Linked DNA regions of Homo sapiens: region 2 is linked to region 1. Evidence: promoter capture Hi-C in human tissues and cell types (Jung and others, 2019). All regions are on one chromosome and are shown on one strand. The core of a region is centred on a gene start or on the middle of the fragment in contact, and the rest is flanking DNA. Distances in the headings are between cores, read along the strand shown. Region 1 holds the start of ITGA8 (integrin subunit alpha 8). Region 2 overlaps MINDY3 (MINDY lysine 48 deubiquitinase 3).

Region 1 (3,662 bases), core at 430-2,929:
TCAACCCTATTTCCCACCACTTCCTAACCCACCCCTTTTATTCCAATCCCATGCACAACCATTTAATCTCTGTCTTTTCTAAGTATTAATACCTTCCCTCAACTTCTCCCCCCACAGTGCCCAAATGTAAGCCCCGTATTCAAAATCCTACGTAAATGTACATCTGCCACCAAATCCTCTTACATGCTTCAGAAAAAACTTAGCTCTTCTGTCTCTAAACTTCATATCTGTTTAACCTCGGCTCCTTCCGGTTTCATGCTGACCTGTTTTGTTTAATGTTAACGAATGACCATATGTTATGTAAAGGGATCTATACTCCTTTCTCTTCTCTGTCCTCCCCTACTCAAGCCTCACGTCCTCTCCGACACAGGAGACATGGGAAGAGATTGACAACACCCACGGATCAGAACCGAAATCTGAACTCCTGTAGACTGTGAACTACACCTTCTACCCCCGCAGAAAGTAAACTGTAAATTCCAACATTCTTAACTGCGCCAAACTTCATCACAATTACACAGGATGGAGATTTACTACTAAGTCATTTAATATGCCCAAGATGCCTTTAAGAAAGATTTAAATAAAATCTCAAGGGCTGGGCAAGGCGGCTTACCCTGAAATCCCAGCACTGTGGGAGGCTTAGGTGGGAGGATCGCTTGAGTCCAGGAGTTCAAGACCATGTTGAACAACATGGTGAGACCCCCATCTCCTTAAAAAAAAAAAAAAAAAAAAAAAGAAGAAGAAGAAGAAGGAGAAAGAAAGAGAAACAAAGAAAGAAAAGAAATTTTAAAAGTCAACTCGAGGTGGCAGGACGGCTTGAGGCCAGGAGATCGAGACCAGCCTAGGCCACATGAGCAGACTCAGTGTCAACAAAAAAAAATTAGAAAATTAACCAGGTGTGATGTGTCATCTGCAGTACCAGCTAATCAGGAGGCTGAGGCAGGAGGATCGCTCGAGCCCAGGAGTTTGAGATTTCATTGATCTATGATAGCACCATTGCACTCCAGCTTGGGCGAGAGAGAGACCCTATCTCTAAAAAGAAAAAAAAAATAAATAAAACAAAGCAAACCAACCAAACAAACAAAAACAAAAAATTCACACATGCACACACACAGGCGCGCGCGCACACACACACACACACACAGACACCCAACAACAAAAACAAAAAAAAACCCTCGAGGCTTTCTTGTATATGAGTTAGCTCTGCCAGGAGGTGGGGTGGACTTAGGGGAGGAGAGGGTTGTTGCATTTCAACTTTAACTCTCATCACAGACGTGCAAAGCCGTGAACGCTGAGGTCAGGCTGCAGAGGTGATGAAGAGATAATTGCTTTGCCCCTCCTGGTGGTGGGGTTGGTTTTCACATTCTCCATCCAAGCTGCGCCTTTGACACAACTGGAGCAAGCTCTCGCTCCACCTGGGGCATTGCTTCTAAAGCAATAAATAGCTTGAGGTGACAGAGACGAAACTGATTGTCCTTGAGATGGGACTGCAATAGAAATCCGGGCAGCCCGAAGAGGCACCCAGCGCTCCAGCCACCAGCTGGGCCGCCCGGGAGTCCCTGGCTCTAGACCAGCCGCGAGGAGGCGCCGCGAGAGAGCTGGTCCCTGCCCGCGGCCGGAGGAGGGCTAGAGCCCCTGGGCCAGCCCCCCGAGCCGGCTGGGCGGGCGGGCGGGTGGGAGCAGACGCCGGGCACTGTCACCACGGGTGCGCCGAGCGCACCGACCCGGGACACGGGCAGCTGGGGACCGCCAGATTCCACCAGCCCCCCTTGCCCCGCAGGGGTCCTCGGCTCGCGCTCCTGGGTAGCAGCCACCCACCGGGGCGGAGGGAGATGTCGCCCGGGGCCAGCCGCGGTCCCCGGGGAAGCCAGGCGCCGCTGATCGCGCCCCTCTGCTGCGCCGCGGCCGCGCTGGGGATGTTGCTGTGGTCCCCCGCCTGTCAGGCGTTCAACCTGGACGTGGAAAAGCTCACAGTGTACAGCGGCCCCAAGGGCAGCTACTTCGGCTACGCCGTGGACTTCCACATACCCGACGCCCGCACGTAAGTCGCCCGACCCGGGGAGGTGCGCGCGGGGACGAAGGCGCTCCCGGGTCAGGTCCCAGCGGCTCTGCCGCGGAGTCCCCCCGCAGCCTGGGATCCCCGTCCTGCCGCCTGCCCGGGGTCCCGTCCCTCTCCCCGCCACCAGCCCCTTCTCTCCCCTGCCATGCTAGATGTGCCTTGTGAATTTTGAGCTAGAGACATGCCACTTGCATAGAACACGCAAGTCCTGGGTGTTCCAGGTACCAAGACGCACGCATCCTACAAAGGAGAGAACAGGACCCAGAAGACCCAAGCCAGTTAAAACCGCCACCACAGCGAGGTCTGTTTATGCAGAGTCTGTAACCATTGCGTCTGGGCGCAAGAGCTGTCGGCTACCAGCAGCTGGGCTCTGTCCTTGGCTTCCTCCTACCCCACCCCCTTCTCTCATCTCACTGTACCCACAGAGCTCCACCTAGAGAAGCAGGACCGTTTGCATTCTTGCAAACCAGGTTGCGGACCCCCGTTTCCAAGAGGAAATCAAGTTTGACAGTCGGTCCTCATCATAAATACGTTCATGCCCTCCACGCCTGCCCCAGTGTCCCCGGGCAGGAGGTTACAGAGACTGCATTGCATGCGCACGGTTTTGTGGCGCCCAAAGAGTGACTTTCTCCAACTCTTTTGCAGAGCGAGTGTCTTGGTGGGGGCGCCCAAAGCCAACACCAGCCAGCCCGATATCGTGGAAGGGGGAGCCGTCTATTACTGTCCTTGGCCCGCGGAGGGGTCTGCGCAGTGCAGGCAGATACCGTTTGACACCACCAGTAAGTGAGATTTGTCCTTCTAAGCTGTGGGCCTGGGTTTGGAAGAACCAGGGCCATCCCAGAGGCGACTTCCCGCTGTCTTGGTGTGCTGCTCGTTTAGCTTGTCTGATATGTCCGTATTGTGGGCTATGTGGGTCTCTAGAGAAATCAGTTTTTTCAACTCTCAGTTAACTGAAGGAAGACGTTTAGTGAACCCTAGAGAAAGGACACTATTTTGACCCTGAGTGTTCGGATGCATCCTGGCAACTCCTGTTTCTTTACCTTTCTGAGATGAGCATTTTCAGGGTGAGTGGATGTTTTGGAGAAATACAAAAACTATGTCCTAACTTTGACTGTGGAGAGAATTTGGTTGCTTCTCAAGGACAGATCTGGAAAAAGAGAGATCCTTAGCGTTTCCAGTGCCCAAGCTCGGGAGGCAGGACTTAGCTGCTGCAGACCCAGACATCACTCCGCGTTGCTGTTTAATTCTTTACAGAAAGAAAGAATTTTCTTTCAAAGTATTAGACATTGAATGCAAACTAGTGCAGGCAGAGTGTGGATGGATTACATTCATTTCCAAAATCCCTAGACAGATGTTTCTTATTTAATTAAAGGGAAAATACATTTTAAACAATTCAGTCTGGTTACGTTTCCTCTGGTGTTTTCTCTTTAGAGCCTGAGAAAATAATTTAAATGCGATGCTTTCAAAAACATTAACACCGAATGCTTTAATTTTTACCACCAAAACTTTATGAATTCAAAAGGTATATATTATCAGAAAGCAAATATCTCTTTCCAGAAAAATGCGAATATGTCAGCTTGAACAATGGTCCTTGATAAATAATCGT
Region 2 (3,662 bases), core at 858-3,357, 80 kb before region 1:
CCCACCTCAGGTAGTATCTTTATAGCAGTGTGAAAACAGACTAATGCAGTTCGTTTTTGAAAACATAATTGACCCTTGAGTAACATGGGAGTTGGGGTGCTAACCCCCTGCATAGTCAAAAATCCACATACAACTTTTGACTCCCTCAAAAATTTAACTACTAGTAGCCAGTTGTTGGCTGGAAGCCTTACCGTAACCAACAGTAGATTAACACATATTTTGTATTTTATATGTATTATATACTGTAATCTCGTAAGCCGGAGAAAAGAATATGTTAAAATTATAATGAATGTCAGTTTGTATTCTGGCCCTGCTTCTTCTACGTCATCTTCCTCATTGTCCAGCACTGGTTCAGAAGCACTCATCTCTATCAAGCCATCTTCTGTTATTTCTTCTGATGTGGTATCTGTTAGCTCTTGAATTTCTCCAAGATCTTTATCTTGAAACCCTTTACTCTGATTGGCTCTGTAAATCCTATGAACTCATGCACAATATCTGGACACAGTGTTCTCTAGCAGGAATATGTTTTGGGCCAGATGGATTAGCTTTTTCTGTAACAGTGATGGCCTCTTCAGTACTGTAATCCTACCAGACTTCCATGTTGTTCTTGCTGTTGCGGTTCTCTTTAATAGCAATAACCATATCATCTTTTCTGCAGACTACTGTGTGTAATGAGCCTCAAGGGTCCTTATGACCTCCTAATCTAGAGGCTGTATTAGTGATGTTGTGTTTGAGGGCAGTTAACTACTTTGGTGCCTTTGGTGGTGAGCTCATGGGATTCTGGGTGGCCAGGGACATTGTCCAATATCAAAAGAACTTTAAAAGGTGGTCTCTTACTGGCAGGGTACTAGGTAACTTCAGGTACACAGCATTGATAGAACTGATCCAGAGAAAGCATTCTCTTCCAGGCCTTCTTTCTTATACAGCCAAAAGATTGGCAGCTGGTGTTATCTTTTCCCTTCAAAGCTTGGGTTTAGCAGTTTTATAAATAAGGGCAGTCCTGGTCATCACCCTGACTGCATGTGCATAAAACAGTAGCCTTTTCCTTTCTGTCTTAAATCCTAGTGCTTCCTTCTCTTCCTTACTTATAAATGTCCTTTATGGCATTTCCCCCCCATGCCGGAATAGGACACCTTTGTCCACATTAAAAACCTGTTCAGGCAGATATTCTTTCTTCTCAAAGATTTTCTTAATGGTTTCTGAGAACTTAACTGCTGCCTCTTTGTTAGCAGAAGCTGCTTCTCCTGTTACCTTGATATTTTTAAAGCCAAACCAGTTTCTAAAATTATCAAACCATCCTTTGCTGGCATTAAGTTCTCCACCTTTAGCTCCTTTACTTTTGTTTTGCTTTAGCTTGTATAATGACTGCACTTTTTCTTAAATCATATTAGAATCTAAAGGTGTGCCTTTCCTATAGCAACCCTGCACTTACATACAAGTTGCATTTTTTGTACAAGGAGGTATTTTGCAAAAAGCGGAAGGTTTGTATGGCTGCAGCAATGGCTTCAGGAATTTCCTTTTCTTTCTTTACGATATTTATGCTGGATTCATTTATCTTGACATAGTGAGCAACCACAGCAGCAGACCTCAATCCATGGTGCATATCAAGCAATTCCACTTTTTCTTACGTCCTGACTTTGGTTTCTTGGGAGAACTTCCGGCATCACTAGTGGCACTTCATATGGGTTCCATGGTTTTTTTTCAAGAGTTACAGTATTGCACTAAACATGATGAAAAGTATGTGAGAACTGCTTAAGATCACTTTTTACTGTGATGTGGAACTCACTGGAGTGATGGGCTGCACATGCGGAGATGATTAGCGCCATACTTGTGCTCTGAGCAGATACAACACAAGCTCACCACAATAGCATCAGGAGATGGTGATGAAATTATTCCAGTAGTACAGTATGCACTAAAGTTAATTTTATGCTGTTGTGATCTGATACTGCATCTTTACATTCGTTTACATCTCTTGACTGTGAGTGGTGCCAGGTACAGTCCGTATGCCCCTGTTTTGATACATTTTAACTTTTTATAATAGATTTGTGGCATTTCATGGTAGTAGAAAAAATAGACTAGTATCTACATATATTTTATGCATGCATGGCATACTTAATTTTTTCTTAACTTTTGAAAATATCTCTAGGCTGCACAGTTTGCGAGTTTTTCAAATTGTCACAAATTTCCAAGAAAAATTTCTTCCAAGAAAAATTTCCAATATATTTATTGAGAAAAAATTCACATATAAGTGGACCCATGCAGTTCATATCCATGTTGTTTGAGGATCAACTGTACTCGCTTCTTAGTTCTTTGAAGGAATCTGCTTCCATAAGTTTTCAATATTTTCCCTTGCAAGTTCCCCAGCCGTAACCTCAGTCTAACACTAATATTCTATTTCTAATAGCTCACGAGAAGCTCGCAGTTAGCTAACAGTGAGTGTTCGTAGTGTGCCAAGTATTAAGATAACTCCATGTATTCTACTTGGATGTTTAACCATTACCTCCAAACTCTAAAAGTTCGAAAATCAAATTCATTCTTCTGTCAAAGCTCATTTCCCTTCCTAAGTCCTCCTTTTCTGTCACAGTTCTCAGTCCTGTTCACCTTTTTCAGTTTCCCTGTGTGCTATGAAGTCACATCTCCCTGCCTTTCCTGATTCCGTTCCTTCTAGCTAGAATTCTGTGCCCTCTTTTCTATTTCTGCTAATAGCCAAAATATATTCTTTGTAAAATCTGTAAAAGTGATTAAGATGTCTTTACTCCCCCCATATATCAAAAAGTTGGCATGTTTAATAAATGTTAAAGGCTGGTTGCAGTGGCTCAAGCCTGTAATCCCAGCACTTTAGGAACCTGAGGTGGGTGGATCATGAGGTCAGGAGTTCAAGACCAGCCTGGCCAAGATAGTGAAACCCGGTCTCTACTAAAAATACAAAAATTAGCCGGGCATGGTGGTGGATGCCTGTAATCCCAGCTACTAGGGAGGCTGGGGCAGAGATTTGCTTGAACCTGGGAGGTGGAGGTTGCAGTGAGGCAAGATCACACCACTGCACTCCAGCCTGGGCAACAGAGCAAGATTCCATCTAAAAAAAATAAATAAATGTTAGAGCATTTGGGGGAAAAAATATGTAATATATTATCTAAATCATAGGTCAGCAAATGGCCCTCAGGCCAAATAAAGTCACCACCTGCTTCAGTAAAGTTTTATTGGAACATAGCCATGGCCATGTGTTTTGCTGCTAAGACCATATGCCCTGCAAAACATAAAAATTTACTATAAAAATTTACTCTGTGGCCCATTACAGAAAAATGCTTGCCAAACCCTGCTCTAAATGAACACATGTTAACTAGAGTCCACCGAGATTTTTGCCTAAGTTCCAAATGCTCTTTCTATAGCAGGTGAGCTTGTATAGCCTGTTCAGAACCACAGGCAAGAAAGAGATGTGTGGTATACTTTTCATTAAGGTTTACTTTAATTTCTTTCTACGTTGGCATAGTGGTTTTTTGTTTGTTTGTTTGTTTTTGAGACAGAGTCTTGCCCTGTTGCCCAGGCTGGAGTGCAATGGCATGATCTTGGTTCACTGCAACCTCCGCCTCACAGGTTCAAATGATTTTCCTGCCTCAGCCTCCCAAGTAGCTGGGTTAACAGGAGCCTGCCACCACACCCAG

The links. Contacts are between HindIII fragments. The study calls those that stand out against the background at their distance.
Region 2: a contact is called between a fragment that was not itself captured here and the fragment with the promoter of ITGA8 in region 1, in 2 of the 25 tissues and cell types used here (aorta and mesendoderm cells).

The regions. Positions count from the first base shown.
Region 1 is chr10:15,717,939-15,721,600 of GRCh38, reverse strand. It overlaps ITGA8 (integrin subunit alpha 8), which reads left to right and starts at 1,679. Exons shown (of 30, transcript NM_003638.3): 1 at 1,679-2,038; 2 at 2,702-2,835. The coding sequence starts at 1,830. The HindIII fragment of the contact is 28,165 bases long and covers 1-3,662 here.
Region 2 is chr10:15,798,635-15,802,296 of GRCh38, reverse strand. The region is part of intron 10 of MINDY3 (MINDY lysine 48 deubiquitinase 3); the gene reads left to right. All of the region lies in intron 2 of LOC124902383 (a long non-coding RNA gene), which reads right to left. Among named protein-coding and RNA genes, the nearest start is that of MINDY3, 60 kb to the left of the region's middle. The HindIII fragment of the contact is 6,130 bases long and covers 1-3,662 here.